2 separate regions of the Homo sapiens genome follow, and region 2 is linked to region 1. Evidence: promoter capture Hi-C in human tissues and cell types (Jung and others, 2019). All regions are on one chromosome and are shown on one strand. Each heading gives the region's core, a stretch centred on a gene start or on the middle of the fragment in contact. The rest is flanking DNA. Distances are from core to core; before and after follow the strand shown.

Region 1 (4,692 bases), core at 873-3,372:
AATTATGCAAGCGAATGTCCAGAAAACACAAATCTATGGAGACACAAAGTAAATTAGTGGTTGCTTAGGGCTGGTGCATAGGGGAAAAGTGGACGTGACTATTGATGGTAATGGGTTTATTTTGGGGGTGATGAAAATGTTGTAGAATTAGAGAGTGGTAATGGTTGCACAACATACTAAAGGCACTGAATTGTACACTTTTAATTAGTGAAATTTCTGGTATGTAAAATATCTCCTTAAATAAAAAAGTATGCATGCTTATCGCAAGCAATTCCAATTCTATTAAAAAAGCTGAGGGAGATGCTTCCAATCCCAGCCCCAGCAAAGGTCAGGCTTTAAGGCCTCCTTTTACGCACTTCTGCACATACAGACACACGTGTACAATGGTAGTCAAACGCAGTGCTTCTCAAAGTCTGGCATATTGAACTATCGCTTGTATGTCTTGTTAAAACACAGATTGCTGGCCCCATTTCCCAAGACTCTGATTCAATTGGTGGGCCTGAAGGGGGCCCGAGAAACTGCATCTCTAACGGTCTCTGCTGATGCTGAGGGGCAGGTCAGAGGCCACATCTTTGAACAGCACTGATGCAGTAACCAACTTTCTTCATATAATTTCAGCTCCTCACAATTTTTAACAGCTGGATTTTCATTCTACGGATACGCTGTAATCGTTTACCCAATCTCCTATAAAAGATACATTGTTGTTTCTCTTGTTTCCATTTGCTTTTTAAACTTAAGAATAGCATAGATTATATACACGTTTTAAAAATTGCAGTATAAAATTAAATGAACAATAAGTCTACCCGCCACTTCTCACCTCCTGTCCTTCAGTAATCCTCCTTAGAGTCAACAATGCTTATCAGCTTTTTGTTCATTCTCCTGGAAATATCCTACATTTGTACATTTACGCTTTCTTTCAAATATGTACAAATGATAATTGATTATCCTGCCTCATAATCACCGATTCTGCTAGCTTGAGAGTTAATGATCTACAAATGTGTGCTATTTTTAGCGATCCTTTTTGCAATGCAACTTTATTGTACTACCATCAATTACTGATTAATTGGTAGCTGATTAATGGCTAGAAAAAATGCCTACCCTCAGGTTTGCTTTTGTCCAGAATTTGCAATGCCAGAAAGGTCCTCTTGAGCTGATGGGCTTATGCCCTACGCCTATTAAAACGCTCTACATAAAACTATGAACAGAATTAACTTATTTGGATACACAGGTGACTTATTGTAAATATTTATGGAGCTATTTGGCAGCCAGTCAATTTGATAAGAGTATTAAATAGAGCATAATGGGCTCAAAAAGTAACTCAATTGATAAATATGTAAAAATATTCAATTCGATAAAATAGATACAAATTTAATAAAATAGATACAAATTTAATCCTATTTTTAAATCTTCACAACAATGAAACATATTTATTTTGATATTTCTAGAAGTAGAGGCTCCCCAACCACAGAATCTGGGCCAAATTTGTCAAAGGGGAAGTTCATTGTAACCTAGGAGAGATCAATTCTAACAAATTTCTAGGAAAGGTCAAACACATGAACATCCTCCTCCTGCAGAGGTACACACTAAGACACATATCCCTGTCTGCCCACCTTGTGCAGCCCACTTACCTGCTACAACAGTAGCCCCATTGAGGTACAGAGCCATGCCCACGAGCATCATGACTCCCAGGGTGAGGATGTAGGGTCTCCGGCGGCCCCACCTGGACCGGCAGTGGTCGCTGGCCGATCCGACCACGGGCTGCAGCAGGAATCCCAGGATGGGGCTGAGGAACCACACAATGCTGTACAGGCTGCTGGGCAGACCTACGCTGAGCAGGACTGGGGTCACATACGCTGCCTCCACCGCGTAGCAGAACTCTCTTCCGAACATGGCCATGCTGTGCATGATGAGTCTGCTGGTGGGTCTTTTAGGCGGCTCCACAGAGTCAAAGGGGCCATCATCAGCTAGGGATTTATAGATGTGGCGGCCAGCCTGCCCACTGTTGCTACCCATGGCCACTGGGAGAGGAACCTTCCTGCGAGCCCACCACCTCCTGCGTGGTCCTAGGGTCTGTGTTTCAAACTGGATTTGACGTGGAGCCTGGCCGAGCAACCAACAGAGATGGTCAGGCTGGGGGAGGGGCTCAAATTCTTTCCTGCCTCTAAGATCACAAGTTATGATGAGAGGGAGGGGGTGGTGCTGGAAAGCATGACAGAGATTAGCAGCTGTGAATCAGCCCTCTGGCTCCATAAGACGTTGGAATACTTTTCTAAAGGGATCCTCCTTTGTACTGTTCCCTCTCTCTTTCTCTCTCTCTCACACACACACACAATTACACGTGATCACACACATGGCTTCTCTCCCTCTCACACACACGTTATTACACGTGATCACACACATGGGCTCTCTCAGACAGTATTACACATGATCACACACATGGTTTCTCTCTCACACACACATGCTATTACACATGATCACACACGTGGCTTCTCTCACACACACATTATTACACATGATCACACACATGGCTTCTCTCACACACACGCTATTAAACGTGATCACACCTGGCTTCTCACACACACATGCTATTACACATGATCACACACGGCTTCTCACACACATGCTATTACACATGATCACACACATGGCTTCTCTCACACACATTACACATGATCACACATGGTTTCTCACATACATGCTATTACACATGATCACACACGGCTTCTCTCATGCATGTTATTACACATGATCATACACATGGCTTCTCACACACATGCTATTACACATGATCACACATGGCTTCTCTCACACACATTACACATGGTCACACATGGCTTCTCTCACATGCGTTATTACACATGATCATACATGGCTTCTCTCTCACATGCTATTACACATGATCACACATGGCTTCTCATGCATTTTATTACACATGACCACACACATGGCTTCTCTCACACACGTTATTACACATGGTCACACATGGCTTCTCTCACGTTATTACACATGATCATACATGGCTTCTCTCACACATTATTACACATGACAGCTTCTCTCTCACACACTATTGCACATGATCACACATGGCTTCTCTCACACACACATGCTATTGCACATGATCACACATGGTTTCTCTCTCACACACGTTATTACACAACGATCACACACGGCTTCTCTCTCATACACATTATTACACATGACCACACACATGGCTTTTCTCTCACACACACTATTACACATGATCACACATGGGGCTTTTCTCGTTATTACACATGATCGGACTCATGGCTTCTCTCACACACACATGCTATTACACATGATTGCACACATAGCTTCTCTCTCACACACGTGTTATTACACATCACACACGGCTTCTCACACACGTTATTTTACACGATCACACACATGGCTTCTCTCACACACGTTATTTTACATGATCACACACATGGCTTCTCTCTCACAGACGTTATTACACATAATTACATATGGCTTCTCTCTCTCATACACACATGCTATTACACATGATCACACACATGGCCGTGAGGTAATAAAGCCTTATTACATAGAGTTTGTCAAAATGTAAATAAATTGATATCTTTTCATAAACTTTTTATAAATATAGACATTCTATTTTTTACTACAAGTTTTCCACACACACAGCTCAGGAGTGAAATAACTAGATTTAAAATGGTGGCAGGTCACACCCTTCTTCAAATCATTAGCTGTGTCAGATCGCCCTGATATTTCTCCTCGTGGTACTTAACACATTTTACAATGAGATAATTCTGGGTTTATTCCATATCCTGTGTTTGTCTTTGATTTCCTCAAGAGCGGAGAACAGGTCTGTTTTGTTCATTATGGTATCCCCAGCAAGTATCATGATACCTGGCACCTAGTAGATCCTCAATAAACATTTGCTAAAGGAATTACTGAGTGAATAAACCATACACACTGCATTTTGTGCTGCCTGTCTGCTCAGATCTATTTCCTTTGGTGCTCTTTATCTTATGGGGCTACATTTCCAGGGTTCCCTTGTTTTCTGGCTTCTAGGTAGATTTGGCTAATGGGAGACACTGGTAGGAAGACTAGGGGAGAGAGAGAAGGAAAGAAGCCAGGATATTTCCCTAGATTTCTTTCTTCTCCCTGAGGTATTACTGCCAGTGTCTATGTCTCCAAGGTGGGTGCAGCAACTTTGGCTTCTGGGTCCAAGTACACCAGCTTTCCCATCACCCCTGCAACCATAGGAGTGGTCTTGGCTTCCTAGTTATGTTCCTATCAGGGTTGCCTCACTATCTTCTGGGCTTCTCTGCTCTTTCGTCACCAGTGGAATTCTTTATATTAAATTTCCTCTGTTTTAAAGACTTCGAGTGGGTTATATTTTCCTTGCTGGACCGAGTTCAAATGAAAAGTCTGAGTTGTAGGGAAAACATCTTTTTTATTATTATTATTTTTATTTATTTATTTAGAGACAGGTTCTTGTTCTGTTGCCTGGGCTAGAGTGCAGTGGTGCAATCCTAATTCACTGTGGCCTCAAATTCCTGGGCTCAAGTGATCCTCCTGCCCCACCCTTGAGTAGATAGGACTACAGGCACACACCACCATACCTGGATAATTTTTTTATTTTTATTTCGTAGAAACGGAGGTCCAGCCAAGTTCCCCAGGCTGGTCTCGAACTCTTGGCCTCAAGTGATC
Region 2 (4,396 bases), core at 741-3,240, 520 kb before region 1:
TCCATCTTTTTCATGAGAGAGTATAAAATCACTCTTTAAGTTTTTACTCCCACTTGAAGTATGAGCATTTATTTGCCTACACATGTTTCTGTTTATTTTCTATCAGAGCGAATATAGGAAAAGAGGATTCCAGGAGGTAGTCACCCCAAACATCTTCAACAGCCGACTCTGGATGACCTCGGGCCACTGGCAGCACTACAGCGAGAACATGTTCTCCTTTGAGGTGGAGAAGGAGCTGTTTGCCCTGAAACCCATGAACTGCCCAGGACACTGGTATTCGGCAGCTTTGAATTTCTACTGAAGATTTTCACATGCTACAATTCATCCTGGGTTCTTCCCTCCTTTAACAACATTTTCATTAAAAACAAATTATGTGATCAGAAGAGCATTTAAACGCAACATCTTTGTATTATATCTTCTGCACCTGATTAGATCCCCACTTTTTTTTTTTTTTTTTTTAAAGAGGTCTTCCAACTGGAGTGCAGGTATGCGATTATAGCTCACTGCAGCTGGGACTGCAGGTATATGCCACCATGCCCAGCTAATTTTTAAAATTTTATTTCTGTAGAGATGAGGTCTTGCCACGTTGCTCAGCCTGGTCTCAAACTCCTGGCCTCAAGCGGTCCTTCAACCTTGGCTTCCCAAAGCGCTGGGATTACAGGCATGAGCCACTGTGCCCAGCCAGATCTCCAGATCTGTGGGCATTCAGTAATGGTACTGGGATCATAGCAATGACCAAGGCAGACTATAAAACAGGAAGATGAAATATGGGGGTGTAACAAATTACCTAGTGTGTTGTTGTTTTAAAGAAACCTGTTCTGTCAAAACCTGCTAATGACTCAGCATTCTTGGAAAATGTTCCTTGTCATGAGGCCGCTCTGCTTTCTATCTTTGAAAGTTGGGTGAAGAACAGCTTAAGGGAAGACACAGGAGAGCTGTGGATACAGGTAGCTTAGTGTCTGCAGCTCCTACTAGCCAGGCCTGGAGGGCAGAGGAGGTGAGAGAAGAATCTTTGTGAAGAAGCTGTATTATAGGCTAGGGGACCAACCAAGTTCATTCTTAATTTTCCCAGATTCTTCAGTTGTTGGAATACGTTTTTTAATTCTTCACTGTGGTTCATTGAGTTATAACTTATTTGCTGTTTTATTCATGCAAGTGCTTTTACTGCTGTATGTAGCCCAGAATTTGAGAAATGTTGCTTGGATGGACAGCTAGAATCAGTGGCTTTTTGACAACCTTTCGTGTAATTAAATATAGCATTACAGAAGCAGTTTTATTCTTAAGTGTCCGTGGACTTTTCTTTTTCTCTTCAGCCTTATGTTTGATCATCGGCCAAGGTCCTGGCGAGAACTGCCTCTGCGGCTAGCTGATTTTGGGGTACTTCATAGGAACGAGCTGTCTGGAGCACTCACAGGACTCACCCGGGTACGAAGATTCCAACAGGATGATGCTCACATATTCTGTGCCATGGAGCAGGTATGAGACCCTGGGAATAAAATACTTAGAAAGAAGAGTCAAGAAAGTCAAGGAAAATAACTACTGTTTCTTTTTTTGTTTTTTAATTTGAAGATTGAAGATGAAATAAAAGGTTGTTTGGATTTTCTACGTACGGTATATAGCGTATTTGGATTTTCTTTTAAACTAAACCTTTCTACTCGCCCGGAAAAATTCCTTGGAGATATCGAAGTATGGGATCAAGCTGAGAAAGTAAGTGGTGTTTTTCAGCGTGCTTTTGAATACTGTTTGAAATTGGCTTGTTCTGAGATGTAAGAAAGCCAAGCCTCTTTAAATGGATAAAAGCAAAATGAAATTGGAAATGGTTCCTAGGTTTGTGTAAGCTAGTTTTTTTCTTTATGATTGTGTATTTTTGAAATGGTTGAATGTTTTCATGACTTTTTTCAGTTATCAAGCTATAAGCTTTAAAAAGGGGTTGGTATGAGCATATGTTCAGGTGGACAAAATTCTAAAGCAGAGAATATTGATCTATGAAAGTAATTACTGTATTTTTAGTCTCAAATTAGGCTAAAAGAAGGGAAATTGCGATGAAAAAAATAAAAATCATTTTGCTTTATCCTCAGCAACTTGAAAACAGTCTGAATGAATTTGGTGAAAAGTGGGAGTTAAACTCTGGAGATGGAGCTTTCTATGGCCCAAAGGTGAGCACTAAAGTACATTTGGGTAATATGATTTTCACTTGTGGATGAAGAAGATACGACTTCGAAAAAAGTTGGAAAAAAGAAAATCAGCCCTAATCCAACTATTGAGCTCCACTTTAGTATCACTGGCATTTTATAATAACCCAGTCTTTGCTTCTTAGATTGACATACAGATTAAAGATGCGATTGGGCGGTACCACCAGTGTGCAACCATCCAGCTGGATTTCCAGTTGCCCATCAGATTTAATCTTACTTATGTAAGGTGAGTTTCTGGTGTCTGCTCTGAATATTCTCCAGGGATATATAAGAGAAAATATATATAATAAGACAAAACAATTTTTTTTTTCTTTATAGCCATGATGGTGATGATAAGAAAAGGCCAGTGATTGTTCATCGAGCCATCTTGGGATCAGTGGAAAGAATGATTGCTATCCTCACAGAAAACTATGGGGGCAAATGGTAATTTTTGTCACTGTCTTTTTTTTCTGATTAGTATAAATTGGCTACAAGAAATGTCTACTTTTCGATTTAATTATCAGATGGAAAGGGAGAATGATTCCAATCGGTTGCTTCTAACTAACGACAAGTGTTCATTAAAAAATAAGGAATCACAATCTAAACACAAACTTTTTAGCATTAAGAACAATTGCTAATAGTAATTACTTTAATTCCAGAACTTGATTTGTTTGGATGTTGTGTAATACTTTCTAATTAGGAATTAGTATTCTGTAAGAAGTATACTTACTGTTTTGGATGCTTTTCTAGTAACTTTGTTTTGGGATTTAGATGGCTTTGCTGGTTTTACATAGATAAATGAGGAGGCTTATGGCTTTCTTCGTTCAGCCTTGCTAATCATAACAAGCAGGTATTTGGACATGTTTTAAAAGCCAAGCATTTTTTAAAACAGATGCCAAACCGATCAACATTTGTGATTCATTTCTGTGAGGTTAAGTAAGTTTTTGTTTCCAAGATACATGGCCACATAACTTTCATCTTAATTCTTAAGCAGTTTTTTCTGGACCCACAGTGCATTTGAAAGCAGCACAGGGTTATAAAAGCACCCGTGTGTAGAGCCTTCCATATTAATCATATTGATTTAAAACTTTTGTAAAATGACGTACATTGGTTTAATCTTACACATTACTGTCATTTCAGTTTTATTTGAACTTGGTTACTTCAGAAATTAGGACAGTTTCTCATTCTGATCAATGATACAAGATAATCTCTAGATTTCTCAAAGTCAGATAAAATGTGAGACACATTCTCTGCAAGGTATTTCAAGAATTAAGGGAGTCCTCAGCTAATTGCTCTGCTAAACCTGTTTTAGGTGGGGAAAAGTCCATGATTAGGGTAGAATTTAGTGCCTACTTTAGCCTTTTGCCTGATACAACAGAACAACTGAAAATAGAGGAATGATGGAGAAAAACATTAGCCTGATGTTTGCAGCATCAGAAGCATTTGACACTTGTATTGCTTCAAAGGGAGAATTGGATGGGCTTATTTTTTAATAAGTAGTGAAAACTCTGATTTTTACCAAGTGCCATAACCAGTTATTATCAATTACAATTTGCTGAATGATACAAAATGGATGTTGAGTAAACTGAGGGCACTGTGTCCCCGTGAAGAATAAGTAATAAAATGAACAATTAATCACTACATGCAGTTATTAAATCATTTGTTACCTCCTCTCACAGCCAATACACAGTGTTTTGTGATGTATTAAAGTGTGAGGCCTAGTCCTATCCTCAATTTGCTTTGCTATCTACTTAGCAAGACAAATTGTAGTTACAGGCTTTCCTTACGTAGGGTTAGTTTTCTTCTCCTGCATCTCCTCGCCTTAATCTTTATTGGATAGGTCTTTTCATTTTGGGGTTTTTTAAAGCCAAGTTTTAAAAGTAGTCGTTACATGTTCCAGGAAAAGATACTGAAGAGTAGAGTAAGAAATATGCTGTCCCTGTTTAGTGAATATGCCCACATCTACACTGAATATTTTTATTCTCTTCCAAAGGCCCTTTTGGCTGTCCCCTCGCCAGGTAATGGTAGTTCCAGTGGGACCAACCTGTGATGAATATGCCCAAAAGGTAAGCCTTAGATATGAATTTTCTTTCAATTTAACATCTGTTGTTCAGCTTTTCAAATCACATAAGCCCTGTATTCTTGGTGAATCGAGCTGTTGTGATAAAGAGAAATGTTACTATTTTTAATCTTTGTTAAGCCTGAATAGATTATATTACTTCTTT

What was found. The method cuts DNA at HindIII sites, captures the fragments that hold promoters and counts their contacts. A contact is called where the count stands out against the background at its distance.
Region 2: a contact is called between a fragment that was not itself captured here and the fragment with the promoter of SLC45A2 in region 1, in 1 of the 25 tissues and cell types used here (mesendoderm cells).

Annotation. Positions count from the first base shown.
Region 1 is chr5:33,982,571-33,987,262 of GRCh38, forward strand. SLC45A2 (solute carrier family 45 member 2) reads right to left here and starts at 2,123. Exons shown (of 7, transcript NM_016180.5): 1 at 1,629-2,123. The coding sequence starts at 2,013. AMACR (alpha-methylacyl-CoA racemase) reads right to left here. Exons shown (of 5, transcript NM_014324.6): 5 at 3,595-4,692. C1QTNF3-AMACR (C1QTNF3-AMACR readthrough (NMD candidate)) reads right to left here. Exons shown (of 9, transcript NR_037951.1): 9 at 4,416-4,692. The HindIII fragment of the contact is 13,392 bases long and covers 1-4,692 here.
Region 2 is chr5:33,459,589-33,463,984 of GRCh38, forward strand. It overlaps TARS1 (threonyl-tRNA synthetase 1), which reads left to right. Exons shown (of 19, transcript NM_152295.5): 11 at 107-273; 12 at 1,314-1,476; 13 at 1,570-1,707; 14 at 2,079-2,156; 15 at 2,318-2,418; 16 at 2,511-2,615; 17 at 4,165-4,237. Among named protein-coding and RNA genes, the nearest start is that of TARS1, 21 kb to the left of the region's middle. RefSeq lists an enhancer at 833-2,032. The HindIII fragment of the contact is 3,709 bases long and covers 137-3,845 here.